Linked DNA regions of Homo sapiens: regions 1, 3, 4, 5, 6 and 7 are each linked to region 2. Evidence: promoter capture Hi-C in 16 types of primary human blood cells and fetal thymus (Javierre and others, 2016). All regions are on one chromosome and are shown on one strand. The core of a region is centred on a gene start or on the middle of the fragment in contact, and the rest is flanking DNA. Distances in the headings are between cores, read along the strand shown. Region 1 overlaps TMX2 (thioredoxin related transmembrane protein 2). Region 2 holds the start of SSRP1 (structure specific recognition protein 1). Region 3 has its middle 3.7 kb from the start of LINC02735. Region 4 has its middle 61 kb from the start of CTNND1. Region 5 overlaps CTNND1 (catenin delta 1). Region 6 overlaps CTNND1 (catenin delta 1). Region 7 holds the start of BTBD18 (BTB domain containing 18).

Region 1 (3,352 bases), core at 712-3,211, 380 kb before region 2:
AATCGCTTGAACCCAGGAGATGGAGGTTGCAGTGAGCCAAGATTGCACCACTGCACTCCAGCCTGGGTGACAGTGAGACTCTGTCTCAAAAAAAAAAAAAAAAAAAAAATATATATATATATGGCCTGAATATCAGCTTTTAGTTAAGCCAACTTCTGACCAGAAAGCTCTTTTTAAAAATCCTTTGTGGCTGGGCGCGGTGGCTCACACCTGTAATCCCAGCACTTTGGGAGGCCAAGGCGGGCGGATCATGAGGTCAGGAGTTAAGAGACAAGCCAGGCCAACATGGTGAAACCCCGTCTCTACTAAAAATACAAAATTTAGCCAGACGTGGTGGCAGGCACCTGTAGTCCCAGCTTCTCGGGAGGCTGAGGCAGGAGAATTACTTGAACCCAGGAGACGGAGGTTGCAGTGAGCCAAGATCACACCACTGAACTCCAGCCTGGGCAACAGAGTGAGACTCCATCTCAAAAAAAAAAAAAAAAAAAAGAGGGGGGGTTATTTCAGAATAAATGAATGGAGGAAAACAATGATATAGATAAAACTAAACAGATATAAAAAGTTGGGCAAAGAGGCTTTGCTGCCACCACCAGGAGCCCTGTACTATCAGCCATGGTCAACCCCGTGTTCTTTGACATCACCGTGGATGGTGAGCCCCTGGGCCGCATCTCCTTCGAGCTGTTTGCAGACAAGGTTCCAAAGACAACAGAAAACTTTCGTGCTCTGAGCACTGGACAAAAAGGATTTGGTTGTAAGAGTTCCTGCTTTCACAGAATTATTCCAGGGTTTATGTATCAGGTGGTGACTTCACACGCCATAATGGCACTGGTGGCAAGTCCATCTATGGGGAGAAATTTGATGATGAGAACTTCATCCTAAAGCATACAGGTCCTGGCACCTTGTCCATGGCAATTGCTGGACCCAACACAAAAGGTTCCCAGCTTTTCATCTACACTGCCAAGAGTGAGTGGTTGGATGGCAAGCATGTGGTCTTTGGCAAGGTGAAAGAAGGCATGAATATTGCAGAGGCCATGGAGCGCTTTGGGTCCAGGAATGGCAAGACCAGCAAGAAGATCACCATTGCTGACTGTGGATAAGTCTAGTAAGTTTGACTTGTTTTGTCTTCACCACCAGACCATTCCTTCTGTGCTCTCCTCTCAGGAGAGCACCCCTCTACCCCATTTGCTCGCAGTATCCTAGAATCTTTGTGCTCTCACTGCAGTTCCCTTTGGGTTCCGTGTTTTCCTTGTTCCCTTACATGCCTAGCTGGATTGCAGTTAAGTTTATGATTATGAAATAAAAACTAAATAACAACAACAATAAAAAGCTAGGGAAAGAAAATAAAGAATGAAAACAAATTCTGGCCTCTGCCTCTGCCTCTGCCTCTCCCTCTCCCCTCTCCCCTCTCCCCTCTCCCCTCTCCCTCTCGGTCTCCCTCTCCCTCTCTTTCCACGGTCTCCCTCTGATGCCGAGCCGAAGCTGGACTGTACTGCTGCCATCTCGGCTCACTGCAACCTCCCTGCCTGATTCTCCTGCCTCAGCCCACCGAGTGCCTGCGATTGCAGGCAAGCGCCACCACGCCTGACTGGTTTTCGTACTTTTTTGGTGGAGACGGGGTTTCGCTGTGTTGGCCGGGCTGGTCTCCAGCTCCTAACCGCGAGTGATCCGCCAGCCTTGGCCTCCCGAGGTGCCGGGATTGCAGACGGAGTCTGGTTCACTCAGTGCTCAATGGTGCCCAGGCTGGAGTGCAGTGGCGTGATCTCAGCTCGCTACAACCTCCATCTCCCAGCCGCCTGCCTTGGCCTCCCAAAGTGCCGAGATTGCAGCCTCTGCCCGGCCGCCACCCTGTCTGGGAAGTGAGGAGCGTCTCTGCCTGGCCGCCCATCGTCTGGGACGTGAAGAGCCCCTCTGCCTGGCTGCCCAGTCTGGAAAGTGAGGAGCGTCTCTGCCCGGCCGCCATCCCATCTAGGAAGTGAGGAGCGCCTCTTCCCAGCAGCCATCCCATCTGGGAAGTGAGGAGCGTCTCTGCCCGGCCGCCCATCGTCTGAGATGTGGGGAGCGCCTCTGCCCCGCCGCCCCGTCCGGGATGTGAGGAGCGCCTCTGCCCGGCCGCGACCCCGTCTGGGAGGTGAGGAGTGTCTCTGCCCAGCCGCCCCGTCTGAGAAGTGAGGAGACCCTCCGCCCAGCATCCGCCCCATCTGAGAAGTGAGGAGCCCCTCTGCCCGGCACCAACCCCGTCTGGGAAATGAGGAGCGTCTCCGCCCGGCAGCCGCCCCGTCCAGGAGGGAGGTGGGGGGGGTCAGCCCCCCGCCCGGCCAGCCGCCCCGTCCGGGAGGTGAGGGGCGCCTCTGCCCAGCCGCCCCTACTGGGAAGTGAGGAGCCCCTCTGCCTGGCCAGCCACCCCGTCCGGGAGGGAGGTGGGGGAGTCAGCCCCCCACCCGGCCTGCCGCCCCGTCCGGGAGGGAGGTGGGGGGGTCAGCCCCCCGCTCGGCCAGCCGCCCCGTCCGGGAGGGAGGTGGGGGGGTCAGCCCCCCACCCGGCCAGCCGCCCCGTCCGGGAGGGAGGTGGGGTCAGCCCCCCGCCCGGCCAGCCGCCCCGTCCGGGAGGTGAGGGGCGCCTCTGCCCGGCCGCCCCTACTGGGAAGTGAGGAGCCCCTCAGCCCGGCCAGCCGCCCCGTCCGGGAGGGAGGTGGGGGGGTCAGCCCCCCGCCCGGCCAGCCGCCCCGTCCGGGAGGGAGGTGGGGGGGTCAGCCCCTCGCCCGGCCAGCCGCCCCGTCCGGGAGGGAGGTGTGGGGGTCAGCCCCCCGCCCGGCCAGCCGCCCCGTCCGGGAGGGAGGTGGGGGGGTCAGCCCCACATCCGGGAGGGAGGTGGGGGGGGGTCAGCCCCCCGCCCGGCCATCCGCCCCGTCCAGGAGGGAGGTGGGAGGGTCAGCCCCCCGCCCGGCCAGCCGCCCGGTCCGGGAGGTGAGGGGCGCCTCTGCCCGGCCACCCCTACTAGGAAGTGAGGAGCCCCTCTGCCCAGCCACCACCCCGTCTGGGAGGTGTACCCAACAGCTCATTGAGAACGGGCCGGGATGACAATGGCGGTTTTGTGGAATAGAAAGGGGGGAAAGGTGGGGAAAAGATTGAAAAATCGGATGGTTGCCGTGTCTGTGTAGAAAGAAGTAGACACGGGAAACTTTTCATTTTGTTCTGTACTAAGATAAATTCTTCTGCCTTGGGATCCTGTTGATCGGTGACCTTACCCCCAACCCTGTGCTCTCTGAAACATGTGCTGTGTCCACTCAGGGTTAAATGGATTAAGGGCGGTGCAAGATGTGCTTTGTTAAACAGATGCTTGAAGGCAGCATGCT
Region 2 (3,242 bases), core at 536-3,035:
ACCCCGCGACAGGCCCTGGTGTGTGTGATGTTCCCCACCCTGTGTCCAAGTGTTCTCATTGTTCAATTCCCACCTATGAGTGAGAATATGCGGTGTTTGGTTTTCTGTCCTTGTGATAATTTGCTCAGAATGATGGAGTCCAGCTTCATCCATGTCCCTGCAAAGGACATGAACTCATCCTGTTTTACAGCTGCATAGTATTCCACGGTGTATATGTGCCAACTTCTTTTTTTTTTAACTGTCACTTTATTTATTAAAGTCATTTGTTAGATTATGTTTTCCTGAAAGGTTGGGGCTGGGTTTTTTTTTCTGTTTTTTTTTTTTTTCTTTCTTTCCTTCCCTTCCTTTTTTTTTTCTTTTTCTTTCTTTCTTTTTTTTTTTTTTTTTGACAGAGTCTCGCTCTGTCACCCGGGCTGGAGTGCAGTGGCACAATCTCAGCTCACTGCAACCTCTGCCTCCTGGGTTCAAGCAATTCTCATGCCTCAGCCTCCTGAGTAGCTGGGATTATAGGCACCCGCCACCACGCCTGGCTAATTTTTGTATTTTTAATAGAGACGGGGCTTCACCACGTTGGCCAGTCTGGTCTCAAACTCCTGACCTCAAGTGATCTCCCTGCCTTGGCCTCCCCAAGTGCTAGGATTACAGGTGTGAGCCACCGTGCCTGGCCGGGGATGTTTTCACCTTGTTCAAGTTTCCTCAAATCTGAGAAGTGTGCTAAAGTAGTAATAGGCCCTCAATATCTATTTATTAAACCCAGTTGAATTTATTTTGCTAGATAATGCTGGAATAGCCACTACTCAGAGGTTAAAGCTATGAGTTCAGGGGAGAAGGGTGCATTCCTGTTGTCTCTTACCCCAGGATTGATTTAGCAAGCTGGTGTATTGATTGTCAGGGAAATCTTGAGCTTACATATTCTGTACTAATGTCTTCATGTAGGACACATATCAATAGTCATTCTGAACATACAGTCACTGTGATTATGACAGAAGATAACTGGACTGGTGGTGTTAAGGAGGTCTGGGTCCTACCTAGCCTTGTTGCCAACGCACTGAGACCCTGGGCAACTCACTCCCCTTTGGGTCTCAGTTTTCCCATCAGTAAAAGGAGGTTGGGGTAGAAAAACTAAAACATCTTTTCCAGGTCTGGTCTCTGATGTTGCAAAATGCACTCTGGGATTATACGGGGGAGACCTGGCTTCCGCAACCACAGGATGATGTGGTTTCAAATCAGTTCTGGCTCCAAGGTGAATCTGACACCAGGACTTGAACTGGATAAGGCCGTTTGCCAGCCTCTTGGAGGTACCTATAATTTTCGGTTAAGGATGTGAAAATTTTGGGTGTAGACAGTGAACTTGACAGTTCAGCCAGAAAGCAGTGCACCCACGATGACACCAACACCCGCATACTCTCCGCAGCCAGTGGGAGAGGTCGTTTCCTCCCACAACTGTTCAAATACTTCTCTTCTTGTCCCATCGACTCCTTTCCATGACATAGAAACTATTTTGCAGAGAAACGGGCACGCATCATTCCAATACACACCCCCACCCCACCCCTGTACTAAGTCTGATACAATAAAACTACACAATTTCTCTTTAGTATCTAGTCTCGACTGAAGAAGTGTCTGTAGTTTCTAAAGAGCCCTACACACATTTTCTAGGCCGGATTCCCCCTGGGTGAGAGAGGCTTCACGGCAACCACCCTTCCCTCAGGTCCTCCAGAGTCGCTGACGCTCTATGCGACTGTCTCGCAGGCGGGCCCGACTCGCGTCTCTCTAGCCAGCTCATCCTCTCTGTGGCCTGTGTACGGCTTCCGGTGGCGGGACGCGGGGCCGCGCACGCGGGAAAAGCTTCCCCGGTGTCCCCCCATCCCCCTCCCCGCGCCCCCCCCGCGTCCCCCCAGCGCGCCCACCTCTCGCGCCGGGGCCCTCGCGAGGCCGCAGCCTGAGGAGGTAGGTGGTGGTCGTCCCCGGTCCCAGGAAGGCAGGGGCCCCGCTCCCCCACGGGACCCTCGACATGGACCATTCCGCGTTCGCAACCGCGGGGAGCGGGCGAATCCATTATGTGGGGCGGGGGTGAACCGTGGGTCTGGGGCCGCGGGGTGGTGGGAGCGGTGCGAGGGAAACCCTGCACTCTGAGCTGGATTGGGTCGCGTGCGATGTGCGGGCTCCTGGCAGACCCTGGGGTTCCGCTGCTCGTTGCCATGGCTCCCGCCGGAGCGGCCAGAGCGGGCGTCGGGTTGGGTGTCAGCGGTATTCCGGGCCCGGTTCTCCACCCAGGCCTGGACCTGGACCCTCGGGCACTGCAGCGTCCGTCTGTAGGTTTCCAGGCAGAGGAAATCCTGAGACATCCAGGCGCAGCTGGGAGTTGCTACCTGGCTCCATCCGTGAGCACAGCGAGGTGCTGTCTTTCATGCTTATCTGTCTTCCTCTTGAATTCAGATTCCCAACCTGCTGAGCATCCGCACACCCACTCAGGAGTTGGGGCCCAGCTCCCAGTTTACTTGGTTTCCCTTGTGCAGCCTGGGGCTCTGCCCAGGCCACCACAGGCAGGGGTCGACATGGCAGAGACACTGGAGTTCAACGACGTCTATCAGGAGGTGAAAGGTTCCATGGTGAGAATGGCTTGGACAGGTGATACAAGTAGAGAGAAGGAAGGAGGGTAGAGTTTTTGTCCATTAATGAGAGCTTGCTTTGGTAACGTTATTTTGGAAAAAGAAGACTCAGTATAATGTGTACCTAGTGTCTCCACCAACTCAAGGCAATACTGAGAGATAGTCTCAGAGTTATAGGGACCGTATATGCTGTTCAGTTCCCAATTCCTGTTTTACAAATGAGGAAACTGAGAATCTGTTAAGGGTTCTAGATACCAGAGTCTGGTTTAGAATCTAGACTCCTTGGCACCCTCAGCTGTTGCTCCTGCATTGATAATCTGGCCAGTCCACTTGCAGCAGGAATGTGTGTTAGGTAGAGCTGTAGAACCCAGGACATGCTGTGTACTGTCTCCATGCATCTGGGCCTGCTTTTCTTACAGAATGATGGTCGACTGAGGTTGAGCCGTCAGGGCATCATCTTCAAGAATAGCAAGACAGGCAAAGTGGACAACATCCAGGCTGGGGAGTTAACAGAAGGTATCTGGCGCCGTGTTGCTCTGGGCCATGGACTTAAACTGCTTACAAAGAATGGCCATGTCTACAAGTATGATGGCTTCCGAGAATCGGTGAGATGTCCCATGGCTATAAGCCTCC
Region 3 (3,172 bases), core at 626-3,125, 490 kb after region 2:
GAGTTTCTTCCTTCTGGTGGGTTCGTGGTCTCACTGGCTTCAGGAGTGAAGCTGCAGACCTTTGCGGTGAGTGTTACAGCTCTTAAAGGCGCGTTTCGGGAGTTGTTCGTCCCTCCTGGTGGGTTCGTGGTCTCGCTGGCTTCACAAGTGAAGCTGCAGACCTTCCCGGTGAGTGTTACAGCTCATAAAGGTGGCGTGGACCCTAAGAGTGAGCAGCAGCAAATTTATTGCAAAGAGCAAAAGAACAAATCTTCCACAGTGGGGAAGGGGACCCAGCGGCAGTGGGTTGCCACTGCTGGCTCTGGCAGCCTGCTTTTACTCCCTTATCTGGCCCCACCCACATCCTGCTGATTGGTCCATTTTACAGAGAGCTGATTGGTCCATTTTGGCAGGGCACTGATTGGTGCATTTACAATCCCTGAGCTAGACACAAAAGTTCTCCAAGTCCCCACTAGATTAGCTAGACACAGAGCACTGATTGGTGCATTTACAAACCTTGAGCTAGACACAGGGTGCTGATTGGTGTGTTTATAAATCTTGAGCTGCACACAGAGTGCTGATTGGTGTATTTACAATCCCTCAGCTAGACATAAAGGTTCTCCAAGTCCCCACTAGATTAGCCAGACACAGAACATTGATTGGTGCATTTACAAACCTTGAGCTAGACACAGAGTGCTGATTGATGCATTCACAATCCCCTAGTCTTACATAAAGGTTCTCCAAGTCCCCACTAGACTCAGGAGCCCAGCTGGCTTTACCTAGTGGATCCCACAGGGGGCTGCAGGTGGAGCTGCCTGCCAGTCCAGCGCCATGTGCCAGCACTAGTCAGCCCTTGGGCAGTCATGGGAGTGGGTGCCTTAGAGCAGGGGGCGGTGCTCATCGGGGAGGCTCGGCCCGGCAGGAGCCCACTGCAGGGGAGGCTCTGGCCTGGCGGGCTGCAGGTCCCGAGCCCTGCCCTGCAAGGAGGCAGCTGAGGCCCAGCAAGAATTGGAGCACAGTGCTGGCAGGCTGGCATTGCTGGGGGACCCAGAGCACCCTCCGCAGCTGCTGGCCCAGGTGCTAAGCCCCTCACTGCCGGGGGCTGGCGGAGATGGCTGGCTTCTCCAAGTGCGGGGCCGCCAAGCCCACGCCCACCCAGAACTCGTGCTGGCCCACGATTGCTGCACGCAGCCTGGGTTCCCGCCCGCGCCTCTCCCTCCACACCTCCCCCTCCACACCTCCCCTTAAGCAGAGGGAGCTGGCTCTGGCCTCGGCCAGCCCAGAGAGGGGCCCCCACAGCGCAGTGGCGGGCTGAAGGGCTCCTAGAGCATGGCCAGAGCAGACACCGAGGCTGAGGAGGCGCTGAGAGCGAGTGAGGGCTGTGAGGGCTGCCAGCATGCTGTCACCTCTCAAAAGGTTTCATCTGTAGCAGGGACAGAAACAGTTACATCCCGTTTGCACCTGGGAGCAGCACAGTTATTGAGGCTGGAGAGAGAACTCACTAACTCCAGCAACAGACATAAGAGTAGTCAGCCATGAGTTGGGTATTGGTGATTCTCACAACTAACTCTGGCTCCAGGAGAAAGAGCAGGAATCAGTCTCAATTGAAGCTGGAGTTCAAGAAGATTTCAGACACATTCTGAGTCCCGATAAAGGCTGAAAGGGAAATATTTGAATGCGGGGGAAGGTAGGGATGAAGAGTGGAAATGGAGCCAAATATACTGTTTCTGTCTTTGTTTTAACTGTTTAATTCTTAATTGTCTTCTTCTGGTTTGAGGAAGCGCTGTTATATACATAAATACAAGATTAATCTTAGCTGGTCTACTGCAATCCTATGTTTATTTCCAGGGATGCTTGGAGCCATTGTTGTCTGGAGGGAGGACTGACTTATTTCCAGAGATTCCTGGAGACACTGCTGGAACCTTAGCCAAATCAGAATAAGCTCAACTAACTGGTGACAAATATTCCTGTGCTAGGACCTGAGACAGGCCAAGTGAGAGATCTGTAGTAGTTTATTAGCTTTGTTCATTAAAAAAACAACAAAAAATTCCAGATTGGTGTTTTTTACCTAGTTTCTACTATGTTCTCTTTGTTTCTTCTGTTCGCTTTTGTCATGCAGCCCAGTTTTGGTTATGAGACCAGACAGATATGAAAGACCACTCCTTGGACAAGACTGTGATTCTCCAGAGCTCAAGTTTTCTTGTATATATCTTAGTAGTTCATGATTCAGATTAAAATCGCATCCTAATCAATTGAGAAATGATCCTGGAAGCTGGGTCTGAAGGTCTTGGACTTTTCTGAGGTTTTCTGTGCTTTCCCCCCACCTACTTTAGAGTATCCTTTACTTTATTAAGACTGTACTCTGTGGAGTCTCATGAGTCGTTTCAGTTGTTCAGCCCTGTGTATTGATGCATCATGTTAGTTTTGTGTTCACTCTGGAATGTGATACAGTAAAAGGTCTATATATTTTTTTCAACTCATCTAAATTGTCTTAGGTCTAGCTGGACTTGATCAAATGGCAATTGAGAAAGTCAGGCTTTAAGTAAGCCAGATATCTGGCTTTTGATTCTCCTCTTTCTCACTGTCTTCTCCTCATTCCCCTTAGATATAGAATACCCTCATAATTTTTCTAATATCCTCCCATCAATGCCTTCTGTGGATTGCTCTAAGAGACTTCCCTAATTCTTTTCTACCCCATTTTCATTAAATAAAATTAGTTTCCAGCCCTCTGCAGCTACAAGACTGTGTTTTTACAAAACTGCTATGACGCATCACATCCTATTAAATCATTCTCTCACCTGATAGACTGTGAAATCTGTGAAAACAGAAGTCCCGTCTTACTCATTTCTAATTCTTAGCCCTGTCTTATAAGAGCAGGAACTCTTTAAATGCATTATCAAAGAAGTCAATGAATTAACAACTAGCTCTTTATAGATAAAGAAGTTCTTTTACTTTGAAGAGTTATTCAAGTGTTGACCGACTGGCAACATTATCTCACAGGTGTAGTTGTATTCCAAATGTAACAATGGATAAAACCTTAAGCTAAAGTAATGCTATTTTAATCGTGGCATGTCACATGTTGACAGACTCTAGGTAACTCAAGTGTTTGCATATGTTTTTAGTGGGGGCACCAGGGACTTTCAGAGAAACTTCAAATGGAGACACATAGATTCTTTTGACCATAAATCCACTT
Region 4 (3,463 bases), core at 459-2,958, 490 kb before region 2:
AAATGTGTGACATTGTAATGCACTACCAATTCAAAATTGAATCAATGCCCCTGAGTAAGCCCTTCTTAGTGCCCAGGAAATGATGACCCAGAGATGAGCTTGAATAGCCCAATGCTTCCCTGTGACCTCTCCTACTCTAAAGCCAGTGGTACCTAAAAATGATAACATCTTCATGTCAAAGGGTAGCCTCCAGCTTCAGTCCAGCCCTACTCTGGGTCAAACCCTTTTAGGATATGGGGAGGATACTCAGACAAGTAAGACTTTGCAATTTTTTTTTTTTTTTTTTTTGAGACAGAGTCTTGCTCTGTCGCCCACGCTGGAGTGCAGTGGCATGATCTCGGCTCACTGCAACTTCCGCCTCCCGGGTTCACGCCATTCTCCTGCCTCAGCCTCCCGAGTAGCTGGGACTACAGGCGCCCACCACCACGCCCAGCTAATTTTTTGTATTTTTAGTAGAGATGGGGTTTCACTGCATTAGCCAGGATGGTCTCGATCTCCTGACCTCGTGATCCGCCCACCTCGGCCTGCCAAAGTGCTGGGATTACAGAAGACTTTGCAATTTCATCAGCAAAATATGAAAGCATTTGTACTGACTGTGTCTTTAAGCCAGGCTGACCAACTCACTTACCAGCCAATTTTTAACTTTGCTTTTATAGAAATTGTCTTGGAGCTATTCCCTTTGTCCCTATTCTTGTTCTTCACTCTGCTCTTTGCTGCACACATCTACTTAACTTGCCACACGCTATACCCAGTGCTGTGATATAAAGGTGGGGGCTTCACCACTACCTACCACCACTGCCCTGCAGGCTCAGCTTGTTCCATCAGATGCAGCACCAGTACTAACCTTGCCCATACTCCTTTTGCTTTCTTCCCTCTCTACTTGTTTGGAAGTTATATGTCCTATATTCATTCTTTAGTGGTTATTCCAGCTAATATGTATTAGGTTGGTGCAAAAGTCATTGCAGTTTTTGCCATTTCAATGCAATTACTTCTGTACCAATCTATTTAGTTTTTCAAGTCTTATCAGTATCTTTACTTTCCTCCTGAAGAACCCGAAAATTAGTGTTGTAATTGCTCCCTCAACTTTACATGCTATTGTTGTCCAGCATTTTAATTCTAGTCTGTATTTCTCTCCCATAAATTACACACTCCTCTTACAGTGAAGGCTTTAGCAATTTCGTTCAGTGTTCCTTCTTGCATCTGATTCTCCATCTGAGATCATTTTCCTTCCACCTCAAGGACATCCTTTTGTAAGTGGAAACTCTGCTTTTGTCGGAAAATGTTTTTAGTAGCTTTTTAAAAAGTGTCACCTCAGGTAAGCTTTCATAATAAGTTCCTTTTTCTCTTAACATGATGAAGATAAATTTCACTGTTTCCTGGCTTTCATTGTTGACACAGAAGTCACCATCTGGCTGGTTTTCTACAGGTAGTCTGTATTTTCTCTCCAGATGCCCACAATCTTTTCTTTGGTTTTCTGCATCTCACCCTGATGTACTAGGTAAGTTGGTTTATCTTGCTTGAGATTCACTGGGCTCCCTAAGTCTGAGGTTTGGTGCCTTTCATCCAACCCTAAAAAATTTCTCTTTGAATATTGCCTCCTCCTATCTCCTGATGTTCCAAATAATGTTTATTAGATCTTATTCCATTGTTGTCTCAACCTCTTGCCTATTTTCCATTCTCTATCTGGAGTGCATTCTGTATAATTTCTTATCTTCCAATTCACAAATCCTCCTTCAATTTGTCTAATCTATTTAATCCATGCATTGACTTCTTACCTCAAATTTGTATTTTTCACTTCTAATTCAAAAAGGTTTTTCCACTAATTCAAAAAGTTCATTAATCGTTATTTCATTATAGTCTGTGCAACAATGCCAACATCTGAAGTATTTAAAAGATCAGCTTCTGTGTCTGTCTTTTCACTCATTGTGCCTTATTTCTTTGTTCAGTTTATAATTTTTGGGCAAGAGCACTCATTTGCCTTGAAAGTATATCTATGGGAATTGTTCTGAGGCCTTAGAGGAATTGCATTTGCTTCTGAAAATCACCTGGAAGCATAAACAAATGAGTACCACTTTAAATTCCCCAGTTAAGCTTTTTGGACCACACAGGTAGCCTAAGTTTGGACTGAAAGCCCATAGAAGGCCATTTGTGGTTATAAATCATCAGGGAAAATATTCTATAGTTTCCATGTGCCACTAAGGTTGAGACAAATGAGTTCCTTGCTGCGCCCTTCTATGGAGTGTTTATTTCTTGTTCACCTTTACACTGAGGGTGTCCAGCTTTATGAGGGAACCTACTAGATTTCTCATTTCCTGTTGCCCATACTTTGTGTAATCACTAAAATAGAAGGTTATGGTCTGCTGAATTTGGCAAAAATTCTGAGGAAAAGCTGGCTTTGGCAGTTACTTCCTAGGATTCCAGCTTTTGCTTCATTTTGAAGAGCCGTAGGTTCCTTACTTTCGTGCCTGCTCAGCAATATGTTTAAAAGTATTTTTTATAAATATATTTACCCAGTATCTTGGTTGCTTCTGCTGAAAGGACTTTTCAGAATTATCTAATCCAGCATACTGCCAAAAACAGAGCCCTGAATTAGTTTCAAATACGCACACCAACGCACTCCCCCTGCCCCGATTCTGCCAACGCGTGAACTGTAAGACCAAAGCTAAGCCTGCCTTTAAGGTGGAAGGAAAAGAAGAATTGAGGTGAGCCAGGCATGGTGGCTCACGCCTGTAATCACTACACTTTGGGAGGCCGAGGCAGGCAGATCACCTGAGGTTGGGAGTTCAAGACCAACCTGACCAACCTGAAGAAACCCCGTCTCTACTACAAATACAAAATTAGCCAGGCGTGGTGGCGCATGCCTGTAATCCCAGCTACTCCAGAGGCTGAGGCAGGAGAATTGCTTGAACCTAAGAGGCGGAGGTTGCAGTGAGCCAAGATTATGCCATTGCACTCCAGCCTGGGCAACAAGAGCGAAACTTCACCTCAAAAAAAAAAAAAAAAAGAATTGAGGTGAAGACAAAAATTGGGTAATTGACTGGAACATCACCACAAATATCCCATATTTCTTTTTCCTCAGGCATAAATGTCTTATGGCACTGTCCATTAGCACTAGAGATACTGGGGGAAAAGACAGCAGGGTAGTAATACTTTTGTGTCCTCAATAAAAGTGGAATAACCTGTCTTTTTTAAAAAATAAAGTAGTATATGGAGATAAGTATAGCACTTTTTCTCAGGTAAAAAAAAATTTTAAAGCTAGTTGCCACATGCTTATAGCTCCTACAATTATAACAAGTGTAAAGCTCTTAGTCCATTCATGGATAGCTATCCATGGTCATTTTACACTGCATAAAAGGAGAAAAATGTCAGGTTAAAATGATGCAGACCAATCAACCTATCTTACCTCCTCCAGCTTTCTCTTCATCCATGTCTGTCTCTAAATCCTGGATGGATCAGTTGAAGA
Region 5 (3,481 bases), core at 900-3,399, 470 kb before region 2:
GGTCTCAAACTCCTGATCTCAGGTGATCTGCCCGCCTCGGCCTCCCAAAGTGCTGGGATTGCAGGCATGAGCCACTGTGCCCAGCCTAAAAAGTATCTTTCTTGGTAAAGAAGCCTCTTTTAATAGTGAGGTTTAAGTCTCAGGCACTACAGTGGCCATTTATGGTTCCTAAATTTCTGCTCTATACTACCATCAGGACCTTATTCTATCCTCAAGTAACCTGAATAACTGCCTTAACAAGCAGTCCTTTTTAAGTTACTGCTATAATACTATGCAGCTTCCCAATACTTTCACAATCATTTCAAATCTGTAAGTTGGAAAAGAGAGGACAATAAACGTATTACATAAAGTCTGCTGTTAGGTTACTAAATATCTTATCTTTGTACTATGTTTATGAGACCTTTGGAGACTGAGAAGATAACTTACCTCGAGCTGGACTCGTTCTTTTAGGGAAATCCACTGTATCGTTTGCTGGATCCTCTATAGGTTTTTTCCCTACAAAAATGAAAAAGGGCGGGAAAAGGGGTAAGCCAGTTTAAAAAAGAAAAGATTCCACCTGGCACATTTTTCATCCTTCAGTCAGAACCTTTTGATCACAGATGCACCACGAGGGGAAAAGGGGCAGGTGAGGGCAACTTGTTCCAGCAGGGGACTATTCAGAAACAAGGATAGAAAACAGGCAGCAGATAGGTAAGATGAGGATGACCACTGTTGATGCTATTGTCCTGAGTTCTGATAATGGGGACTGCTGCCCAGAAACAGCATGCCGTGAGCTATTAGCTCCAAAGAGCTAAACTTGTTTCAGTGTCTTCCTCAACTGAACTTTCCTACATGCATAGACAGGGAAAGGTTAGGCAAGGACATACTAGGGAAGCTAAAATCAAAACATGCAAATTAGAAGTAGATAAGCACCTTAAAAGACTCCACTCACCTCTGGAGAACCACTCATCTTCCAGTGCATCACCCAAGGTAGAAAGCAGAGAAGAGAAATGAAATAAGAAAAATGCAGGAGAAAGATGTCAGCAGAATCATGGGCAAATAAGCAGGGAAGCACAGAGAAGAAAAGAAAAACACAGAAAATGCAAAGGACGTATGGGGAAGAAGGTCCCAGATTAGTTGAGTTCTCATTTTCCACTGCCCCACTCATTGATACCACCACCACCACCACCACCACCACCACCAACACATCACAACCACCATCCCATCACCACACCTTGAATGAAGCACACAACACAGGGAAAGCAGCAAACCAAAAAGACATCCATAACCAGGCAGACTCCCATACTGTTGCCAAGTATTTTGTACCTTAAGCTAAAGTGTTCCTTCCTTTCCCTATCCCACATTAAAGACTAAGAAACAGGAACCAAGACTCACCTTTGCCCTTCTTGGCCCCAAAGCAACTGGCAGCATGTGGCCCAGTATTGTTGGCAACATTGGGAGCTGCCTCTTGGTAACGCTCTGCCTGTGGGATCTCCCGGTGAACTTGATATGATAAGTTCCGAAGAAGGCAAACACAGTTCTCTACAAGCTTAGGGACATAAAAGGGCCAATGAGAAAAAAGAATGTCTATTGTGATTTCTCCACAAGTACAGGTTTCCATGACTCAGGTATTAAAATGTTGATCTTCAAATGCATAACCCAATCCATAACTTCTCAGGATGCCTCTTAAGTGCTCCAGGCTTCTTGAAATCCCGGTAGCCTCAGGCTAATGGAAGGTCCAACTATGGACTTATTGGCTTCTGCCACTATTTGGTGTGTGACTGAAATTGGATCATCATTCTTACTACTTAGACAATGTACAATTTTGGAAGACAGCTAAGCAGCTTTAAAATACATAGGTGACAGATTTAAAAAAAAAAGAAAAAAAAGCCGGGCACAGTGGCTCACACCTGTAATCCCAGCACTTTGGGAGGCCGAGGCGGGTGGATCACCTGAGGTCGGGAGTTCAAAACCAGCCTGACCAACCTGGTGAAACCCTGTCTCTACTAAAACACAAAAATTAGCCGGGCATGGTGGCAGGTGCCTGTAATCCCAGCTACTCAGGAGATGAGGCAGAGAATTGCTTGAACCCAGGAGGGAGAGGTCGCAATGAGCCGAGATCACGGGACTGTACTCCAGCCTGGGACAGAGCCAGACTCCATCTCAAAAAAACAAACAAACAAACAAAAAACATGTTTTAAGTTGAATACCCACTTTAAGGAGTAAGGGCTTGGCTGGGCACAGTGGCTCACGCCTGTAATCCCAATGCTTTGGGAGGCTGAGGCAGGGGGATCACGTGAGGTCAAGAGTTTGAGACCAGCCAGGCCAACATGGTGAAACCCCGTCTCTACTAAAAATACAAAAATTAGCTGGGTGTGGTGGCACACGCCTGTAATCCCATCTACTTGGGAGGCTGAGGCATGAGAATCGCTTGAACCCAGGAAGCAGAAGTTGCAGTGAGCTGAGATCACATCACTGCACCCCAGGCTGGGCAACAGAGCAAGACTCTGTCTCAAAAATAAGGGGTAGGGGACAGTATAAATATTTAATGTTACTTGAAAGCCTGAGATGATAGGTCTCTGACCTACAGATACTTCATAGTTGTGGTGAATGAAATTCACTCAGCCATTAAAGGTAAGACAGCACTTACCTTGCTGTCTGAATCCTTCTGCCCAATCTCAGCCTGAACAATGAAAATGAGGGCATCAACTAAACCATCACATTCCCGAAGTTTCCGGCGAGCTTCACTCCTCTCTGAGCTTACATTCCTGAGGGGAAACCAGAAGCTTCAAGATGACTCAAATCCAGAAATCCTCCCTTAAATATCCCTCAACACCTACAAGATTCCTGAATATGTTTTTCTACTCACTGTAATAGTAAATACCTATTATAAGCAAGGTACTGCAGTTGAGAGAAAGTTGATTAACAGTCCCTGCCTTCTGAATGTTTATATCACTGTGGGGTAGGGATTAATGATATGTACCAGATGCAGTAATTCAAGATGGAATATATACTTCTCGTATGGAAGTATATAATACATATGTAGAATGGAACACAGCACACAGAGGTGTATTCCAAAGAGAGAAAGATTATATAGCAGCATTTATAGGATATAAAAAGAATTCAGGAAAACTTTAATAAAATAAAGGCACTTGAGTTTAACCACAAAAAGATAAATAAGAAGAGAAAGGCATCACAGAAAGAACAGACCTTCCTCACCCATGCCCTAACCTCCTAGTACTCTGTACCCCTTTTGCTGAATTTATCACAGCCTGACTTGAAATACAAATAACTAGGGCAAGGACATAGACACACACAAGTCCAGGACTAGACCACCTTACATGTGGTAGATGCTGAACAAAAGCTTACCAAAGTAGATGAACAAAGTCAAAGAGGCATAAAAGTGAAGAGGATGTGTGGGGAACAGCAAGAAAACTGATATAGGTACATGTGGTATACATGAGAGAATAGCAACAAAGATAGAAAGGTTGGAGTTACAGTA
Region 6 (3,383 bases), core at 627-3,126, 450 kb before region 2:
AAAAGGTATTTAAAAAGATTTTTTTCTGCTATGACATGAAAGGAATAAAAATACATATTTCTTAAAAAGTAAGATTTTTCCTTCTTAATAAACATATTTCCATACACACCTGTTAAGAGAAGGTCGCAACTGATTGGTTTAACACAGAGAACAGCCCAGTCTAGATTCAAAAAATCATGGAAGAAGCATCCCAGCCACCACAGCAAGGAGGAAGCAGGAAGGAGAGAGCTGCAGAAATATTTGAAGGAAAAATGGGAATGAGAGGAAAATAAAATATACCCAATACATAAAAACAAGAAGAGCAAGGGGCAATATTAGGAATGAAAGGAAGTAATTTAAAATATGACTTGGAATTGCTTAATGTGACAAGTGCCCTTTAGACCTTGTTGTGTTCAGATACCTAGGCCTTGGATGTCATTTTCATTAAAACCTGGATTCTACTGTCAAGTGAGAGCTCCTCTATTTGTATTTCCATATATAACCAGGAACAGGTTATAATATGTATAAAAATCCATTTACCCTGTTTCCAGCAACCAAATTGGGGAAAAAGAAAAAAACTGCTGTTGGAATGCCCTTCCCCCTCCCTTCCCACCCCTAAGGCAGAAACCTCAAAGCCCAGTCCCAGCATGCCCACAAAGACATTGAGAAACCAATGCAAAAGTTGTGTGGGGAAGACATGTGGGGACTAGCCTAGGCTGAGCCTTTTGCTTCAGTTCCCTTTCCCACGCTCCCCAGAGCCCCACCAAGCACAAATGCCCGGGCCTGTTTGGCTTAGAGTGTATGCAGAAGTCAGCAAGCAAGAGTACCCAAAGGAACTGATAAGTAAGTGTCCAATAAACTCCTGAATCAATCCAGTCCCTAAGTTTAAAGAACGTGGTTGCCCTTCCCTAAATTCCTCCTACCCCAGCTCGAAGTTCCCATAATCGCCTATCAACTCTTCTTCCTTTCAGTCCAAAACCCATTGCCACTTTCTCATATTCCCACCCTACATTCCAACAGGCCACTCAAAGGTCTTTCTTGAATAAGCACCCTTATTTTAAAAAAAAAGGTGCTCCCCTTTCATCTCCATTTCTTAAGTACTTGCCCTTATCCACTATGTACAATGACCTATGAACCTTCCACACCAAGAGGACTCTGAGCTCAAAAAGAGATTCTTCCAGTTACTGAATTTCAACAGGGTCTGAAGTGCAATTACCACTCCAGCAGCATCCACCCTATAATCTTCTTTGCTAATAAAAGCCCAAATTACTGCTACCACGGGGGATACAGTGACATTCCCTGCTGCAAAGAGAAAGTGTATAGATGGCCATAAATGGCCCTGCAACTTAAATTCAGTGAAGAAGGTTAGGAAGGGAGATAGGAAAAATACTCAGGGCTCTAGGTCAGAAAGCAGTATCTGGAGAAACATTAGCTTCCACCATCTTCACAGCTTTAAAGCTGACCACCTGGCTCTAATTTGGAAAAGAAGACAGCACAATTACACAAAAAGATCAGATTCCTAGGTCTAAAAGCATGGGGAGATATTCTGCCTGAAAAAGGACAGAAGCAGAGGCCATATGGGATAGAACACAACTCAAGAAGACTGGTCCCAGTTCTGGCTCTACTACTACCCAACAATGGCAGTAAACCCTGTCATATTCTCACTTGTAAGATGCCAAATCCATTTGCCCCGTTTCCAGGAACCAAATTGGGGAAAAAGAAAAAAAATTGCTGCTTCCCAGGAGTTAGGAAATTAGCCCGGTCTAACTCAGAGTTGTTGTGAGGATTAGGTGAGACAATGTATGTTATATACAAATGTCAGGTATTAAGTTGTTTCAAAAGTTGGTTTAACACTTCCAATTACATTACTTCACCGTAATGTCTCAGCCTCAAACTATTTTGTGAACTAGTAGATGAAATCAACTGGATCAAAAACATAACTAGGTTCTAAGGAGTGAATGGGCTGGTTTCCCTACTCCTAATCTATTTACTAGAACGTCCCACCTATACCAGTGTTTCTGGGACAAAGGACACTTCTCTAGTGCCTGGAAGTCATCACATCATTACACATCTGTCATAATAAGTTCTTGATTCTGTATTTGAGGCCTTAACAATTTATTACCTTGGAGAAAGGGAATGTGAAACTAATGATTACTGAATGTTTTACATTTACTATCTTGGCAATCCTTACAACAACCCTAAGGAAGTTTTATTGCAAATAAGACTCATGGGTGAAGAAACTACCCAAGGTCTCACAGTTAATAGCAAATTTTGAATTTAAACCCAGGTCTATGCCATTCCAAAGCCTGTGTTCTCTTTCTATGCCATGGTGTCAAGTCCAAATAGAAGTGCAGTCAGTACCAGATGGATGGTCCAGAGCCTCTCCTCTACAACCTTTGAGAGCTTTCTTCTCAACTATCACAGGAAAACAGGGAAAGAAAAGGGTTCTACTTTGTTTTTTTAGGCTCAAGAGTTACCCATAATATCTACATAGAAGTGAGAAAACAGAAAAAAAATGGGAGGAAAAGGAATGTATGAGTGGGGAAAGAATGAAGCTGTTAGGCAGGCTACAGTAAATGGTCTCATCGCTTGGAGACTTAAGGAAAAAAGATTCTTCTCATGCCATATGCATCAAAAAGATCACACTACAAACCTTCAGCTGACTTTGGCAGACAGTCAGGAGTCGTAATTACAAGTCCAGCCCAATGCCTTTCCAGCTTTGCCACTTACATTTTTTATTTATTTATTTTTTTGAGATGGAGTCTCGCTTAGTGGCCCAGGCTGGAGTGCTGTGGTGCAATCTCAGCTCACTGCAACCTCCACCTCCTGGGTTCAGGCGATTCTCCTGCCTCAGCCTCCCGAATAGCTGGGATTACAGGTGCATGACACCACACCGGGCTAATTTTTTGTATTTTTAGTGGAGACGGGGTTTCACCGTGTCAGCCAGGATGGTCTCGATCTCCTGACCTCATGATCCGCCTGCCTCAGCCTCCCATAGTGCTGGGATTACAGGCGTGAGCCACGGCAGCCGGCCTCCACTTACTTAGATTTTTAAATAGACTACATTTCCTCTCACCAAAAAAAAAAAAAAAAAATCAAAGAATTCCTGAAGTCAGGGGGTTGAGGAAACATAAAGTGAAACTTGTTATTCCCCCTTAAGACTAGATTTTCTGAGAATACCTAGTTTTACTCTCAATAAGCCATTAAGTCCTACATTACTGGATCCCACCCACACTAGAAAGATATTCCTGCTATTACCCAGAGTCCATAGTCCATAGTAAAGATCCTTCATCCAAGCAATGATAATGATAAAAACTCAGTCTCGTCTGTAAGAACTCCCAACCAAAAGAAGTTAAATTAAATCAAATACCCAGAAGGACCAAACAACTAGACAGTGCTAACCA
Region 7 (3,611 bases), core at 836-3,335, 420 kb before region 2:
ATTTTTTGTATTTTTGTAGAGACGGGGTTTCACCATGTTGGCCAGGCTGGTCTCTAACTCCTGACCTCGTGATCCGCCCCCCTCAGCCTCCCAAAGTCCTGGGATTACAAGCGTGAACCACCGCGCCAGGCCTAATTAACATTTTTTTAAAAAATCATCTCTGTAACGATAATGGAGACCGTTCGCGGGGGCGGGGGGGGGGATTTTCTGCAAAACCCCTGGGTCATTAGTTCTCCAAGATTTGGGGTTGGAGTGGAATCAGTGAAGAAACTGAATTCAGAAACTGCCCAAGGACCTTATTCCATAACATCTCTGGTCTTAGGAGATTTCTAAATTAGCCATATGGGGGACCCGGTGTTACCAGAGCCATCCAGAGACTTCCATCACGAAACATGGAGCGCTCCAGGCAGAGCCAAGGGCATCTACTGCCTCTTCAAAGGGAAGACGGACATGACCCTTAACCGCCTTGGCGCCTGCTCTACTACAGCATCCCTACCCTCTTTTTCGGTGTGTTTTCATCAAGTGCTGAGGCAGACGACGGCTTTCACAAGAATTCCTCCCTGACGGGCCCATCCCCCTGCCTCTTGCAGCCCAGCCATCTTCCCTCAGCCCTCAAGTCCCTCGAGACTTAGCCTCCCGCCCAAAGCGCTCCTCCTGTTCTGATTGGTTCTCCCGGGAGCCTTCGGCCAATGGGGATGACGTATGCCGGACGACGTAGGCCCGAGGACTCGGGAGGAGGAGGGGCGTAGGGCTCTGCGACGCGCAGCGCGCTAGGACGGTGGCACGAGGTGTGTGGCGCTGGCCGCGTGGCCTTACAACCCTCGCTATCACTACCACCCAGTGCATGTGGGTGCTGAAGCCCGCAGGGATACAAGGGCGCCAGGGGCTGCCTGCAAAGTCTATGCTGGCGGAGGTGGCCGTGACGGGAAGTCCTGACTTTGGGCCTCCCGGATCCCCACGGTCCATTCCCAGAAACCCTCGCGCCTAGGAGTCTTTCTTCAAAGGAGTTGGGCCAGGGCGCCCAAGCGTGCGGGCCACCCCGCTTTGCAGGGCTCTCCCTGAAGCCCTGCTTTCTCCGCCAACACCGATTCCCTTGCTTCTGGATGGGGAGGTGAAGCACTCAGCCGTTGGCCCACCTGCGCATCTTTGCTCAGCCTCCTGACTCAACGCTGAACATTGAGAGGAAGCAAGGCAGGCTGGACAGAGGACAAGCACAGAGAAGGCAACAGGAGCAAAGTCTACCGAAAAGCTATTTCAAGTTGGGTCTGGAGGCAAGGCCAGGCGATCGTGGATTGAGAAGCTTCCCCAGGGCCCTTGCAACAGCTGCCATCCTCCATCCACATCTCTCTCACTGGGATGGGAATTTTTTTTTTTTTTTTGAGACGGAGTCTCGCTCTGTCGCCCAGGCTGGAGTGCAGTGGCTCTATCTACAACCTCTGCCTCCCAGGTTCAAGCGATTCTCCCACCTCAGCCTCCTGAGTAGCTGAGATTACAGGCGCCTGCCACCATGCCCGGCTAATTTTCGTATTTTTGTAGAGACGGGGAGTCACCATGTTGGCCAGGCTGGTCTCAAACTCCTAACCTCAGGTGATCCACCCGCCTCGGCCTCCCAAAGTGCTGGGATTACAGGCGTGAGCCACCCCGCCCAGCCAAGCCCGCCTTCTCTTAATTTACCTTTTCATTCTTCTTTCCTGATAGTTTTGACGTGAACTGTTCGGACCCTCAGTGCTACCTGATAGAAAACTGCATTCCAGGAAAGGAACACAGCTGTGCAGTGAGTGGGGGGGTTTCGGAGCTAAAAAGCTGGACATAAGCCTGAAGTCAGAATACTCAGTTTGTTTTGGGAGGGGTAAAATGCTTTACTATCCTTGCTGCATTGTTAGCCTGGTAATTAACTATACAAACGTAAAGGCCAAATTCTTTGCCTACTACCAGGGTCAGTCAGGCTCGCTTTGGTCAAGTACACCCAGCCAAGGGTGGCAACGTCCTTGGTTCTGTGAGAGACCTTCCCGCAGAGTCAGAGGCTTCTCTTCTTTATTGTGCACCCTCTGCTGGTTAGTGTGATACAGTGAGCTCAGAGAAAAGGCGCATACGACTTACTAGAGATAATTTTATACCCAGTAATGTTTCCTTAAAAGTGTTAACTTGAAGATTATACCTGTGGAGCTGGGATGTGGTGCTCAGGAAGAATATAAGTAGTCAGCATTGTAGCAGTTGAGTCTCAGTGGTAATGGAAATGAGGAAGGTTGAAGGATAATAATAGTTACCATTTGGGGCTTGGTAGTTATTTTGTGCCAGGCACTCACTGTGCTAAGCAACTTTACCTTCACTGACTCATTTAATCTTTAAAACAACCCTACAAGGTAAGTACTATTATTCTATTTCATGGATAGGAAAGTGAGACTCAGAGAAGTTAGGTCACCTGTGTGAGATTATACAGCCAGGCTAATAAATAGAGCCAAGACCCAAACCTAGGCTTATCTCTGAGCTCCCACATGTAACCACTATGATAATTTTCTTTCTTGAGATATCCTTGGCACAATTTCTGGGCTGATGTTTCCTCAACTCATACTATTATCTCTCACTTTCAAAATTCCCCTGCCATTTCAAAGACAAAAAACAAATTAGATGTAACCATGCCTCTGAAATGTATTATCTCACCTACAGGAGTCTGATCTGTGAAAACCTAGAAGGTTTGTTAAGACTCTTGCCAACATGTGCTCTCCTGCCAGTCCCAAAATCCTATACAGGAACCCCCGGTTCCTCAGGTTAGCTTTTCTGCAGCTTCATCACCAGCAGCAGAGTGATGTGTTCTGTGATGTCCTTCTGCAGGCAGAAGGTAAGAGAGTGGTCGGAATTCAACTGAAAACTCACCATAGAATAAGATAAAATGAGTTCAGAGCCAGAGGGTAAAGGACAAAATCAGCAAAATATTACTGCCTATGACCACTGTAAACTATTTGGTAAAGGGCTGTTTGTTTCTAGGACAATTACTACTGTTTTCAAGAGTGAAATTGTGACTTTGCTTCTTTCTCTTAAATAATGAATCTAATTGTAAAGTTTTATAAGCAGATACATTCTATATAACATGGATAATATTCCAATGGGATGGTTGTGAAGATTAAGAGTTAATGTGGGTAAGCACTTAGAATAGTGCTTTTAATATACTAACCACAATATGTGTTAGATGATACTATTATGTTTTCTTTTTGAGAGTCTCACTCTCTTGCCCAGGCAGGAGTGTGGTGGCACAATCACAGCTACCTGCAACCTCCACCTCCTGGGTTCAAGTGATTCTCATGCCTTAGCTTTCTCAAGTAGCTGAGATTACAGGCATGCGCCACTACGCCCAGCTAACTTTTGTATTTTTAGTAGAGATGAGGTTTTGCCATGATGGCCAGGCTGGTCTCAAACTCCTGGCCTCAAGTGATCCACCCGCCTGGGCTTGCCAAAGTGCTGGGATTATAGGCGTGAGCCACCACGTCCGACCCTTTTCCCATTTTCTTTTTTGTTGTTGTTTTGTTTTTGAGACAGAGTCTCTCTCTGTCTCCCAGGCTGGAGTGCAATGGCACGGTCTCAGCTCACTGCAACCTCCACCTCCCGCGTTCAAG

The links. The method cuts DNA at HindIII sites, captures the fragments that hold promoters and counts their contacts. A CHiCAGO score of 5 or more calls a contact.
Region 1: a contact is called between a fragment that was not itself captured here and the fragment with the promoter of SSRP1 in region 2, in 11 of 17 cell types (non-activated CD4 T cells, fetal thymus, total CD8 T cells and 8 more). The highest score is 9.5, in non-activated CD4 T cells.
Region 3: a fragment that was not itself captured here is called in contact with the fragment with the promoter of SSRP1 in region 2 in 4 of 17 cell types (M1 macrophages, endothelial precursors, M0 macrophages and 1 more); the score reaches 8.8 in M1 macrophages.
Region 4: a fragment that was not itself captured here is called in contact with the fragment with the promoter of SSRP1 in region 2 in 1 of 17 cell types (M2 macrophages); the score reaches 5.1 in M2 macrophages.
Region 5: a contact is called between a fragment that was not itself captured here and the fragment with the promoter of SSRP1 in region 2, in 11 of 17 cell types (total CD8 T cells, fetal thymus, activated CD4 T cells and 8 more). The highest score is 11.2, in total CD8 T cells.
Region 6: a fragment that was not itself captured here is called in contact with the fragment with the promoter of SSRP1 in region 2 in 2 of 17 cell types (activated CD4 T cells and non-activated CD4 T cells); the score reaches 5.4 in activated CD4 T cells.
Region 7: a contact is called between the fragment with the promoter of BTBD18 here and the fragment with the promoter of SSRP1 in region 2, in 15 of 17 cell types (activated CD4 T cells, naive CD4 T cells, total CD8 T cells and 12 more). The highest score is 18.9, in activated CD4 T cells.

Annotation. Positions count from the first base shown.
Region 1 is chr11:57,715,791-57,719,142 of GRCh38, reverse strand. The region is part of intron 1 of TMX2 (thioredoxin related transmembrane protein 2); the gene reads right to left. All of the region lies in intron 1 of TMX2-CTNND1 (TMX2-CTNND1 readthrough (NMD candidate)), which reads right to left. It also overlaps the pseudogene PPIAP42. Among named protein-coding and RNA genes, the nearest start is that of TMX2, 4.9 kb to the right of the region's middle. RefSeq lists an enhancer at 3,080-3,352. The HindIII fragment of the contact is 5,340 bases long and covers 1-3,352 here.
Region 2 is chr11:57,334,435-57,337,676 of GRCh38, reverse strand. SSRP1 (structure specific recognition protein 1) reads left to right here and starts at 1,785. Exons shown (of 17, transcript NM_003146.3): 1 at 1,785-1,947; 2 at 2,437-2,609; 3 at 3,029-3,214. The coding sequence starts at 2,556. It also overlaps a transcript of P2RX3 not described here. RefSeq lists enhancers at 1,647-1,696, 2,547-2,616 and a silencer at 1,867-2,046. The HindIII fragment of the contact is 4,158 bases long and covers 1-1,847 here.
Region 3 is chr11:56,843,220-56,846,391 of GRCh38, reverse strand. No RefSeq gene overlaps it. Among named protein-coding and RNA genes, the nearest start is that of LINC02735, 3.7 kb to the left of the region's middle. The HindIII fragment of the contact is 4,094 bases long and covers 1-3,172 here.
Region 4 is chr11:57,821,377-57,824,839 of GRCh38, reverse strand. No RefSeq gene overlaps it. Among named protein-coding and RNA genes, the nearest start is that of CTNND1, 61 kb to the right of the region's middle. The HindIII fragment of the contact is 771 bases long and covers 1,323-2,093 here.
Region 5 is chr11:57,803,929-57,807,409 of GRCh38, reverse strand. It overlaps CTNND1 (catenin delta 1), which reads right to left. Exons shown (of 21, transcript NM_001085458.2): 9 at 2,630-2,747; 10 at 1,375-1,528; 11 at 932-949; 12 at 427-495. It overlaps TMX2-CTNND1 (TMX2-CTNND1 readthrough (NMD candidate)), which reads right to left. Exons shown (of 21, transcript NR_037646.1): 10 at 2,630-2,747; 11 at 1,375-1,528; 12 at 932-949; 13 at 427-495. Among named protein-coding and RNA genes, the nearest start is that of CTNND1, 44 kb to the right of the region's middle. The HindIII fragment of the contact is 1,237 bases long and covers 1,531-2,767 here.
Region 6 is chr11:57,785,882-57,789,264 of GRCh38, reverse strand. It overlaps CTNND1 (catenin delta 1), which reads right to left. Exons shown (of 21, transcript NM_001085458.2): 2 at 110-228. It overlaps TMX2-CTNND1 (TMX2-CTNND1 readthrough (NMD candidate)), which reads right to left. Exons shown (of 21, transcript NR_037646.1): 3 at 110-228. Among named protein-coding and RNA genes, the nearest start is that of CTNND1, 26 kb to the right of the region's middle. RefSeq lists an enhancer at 543-722. The HindIII fragment of the contact is 4,789 bases long and covers 1-3,383 here.
Region 7 is chr11:57,750,293-57,753,903 of GRCh38, reverse strand. BTBD18 (BTB domain containing 18) reads left to right here and starts at 2,085. Exons shown (of 3, transcript NM_001145101.3): 1 at 2,085-2,363; 2 at 2,668-2,839. The coding sequence starts at 2,716. All of the region lies in intron 2 of TMX2-CTNND1 (TMX2-CTNND1 readthrough (NMD candidate)), which reads right to left. The HindIII fragment of the contact is 11,151 bases long and covers 1,303-3,611 here.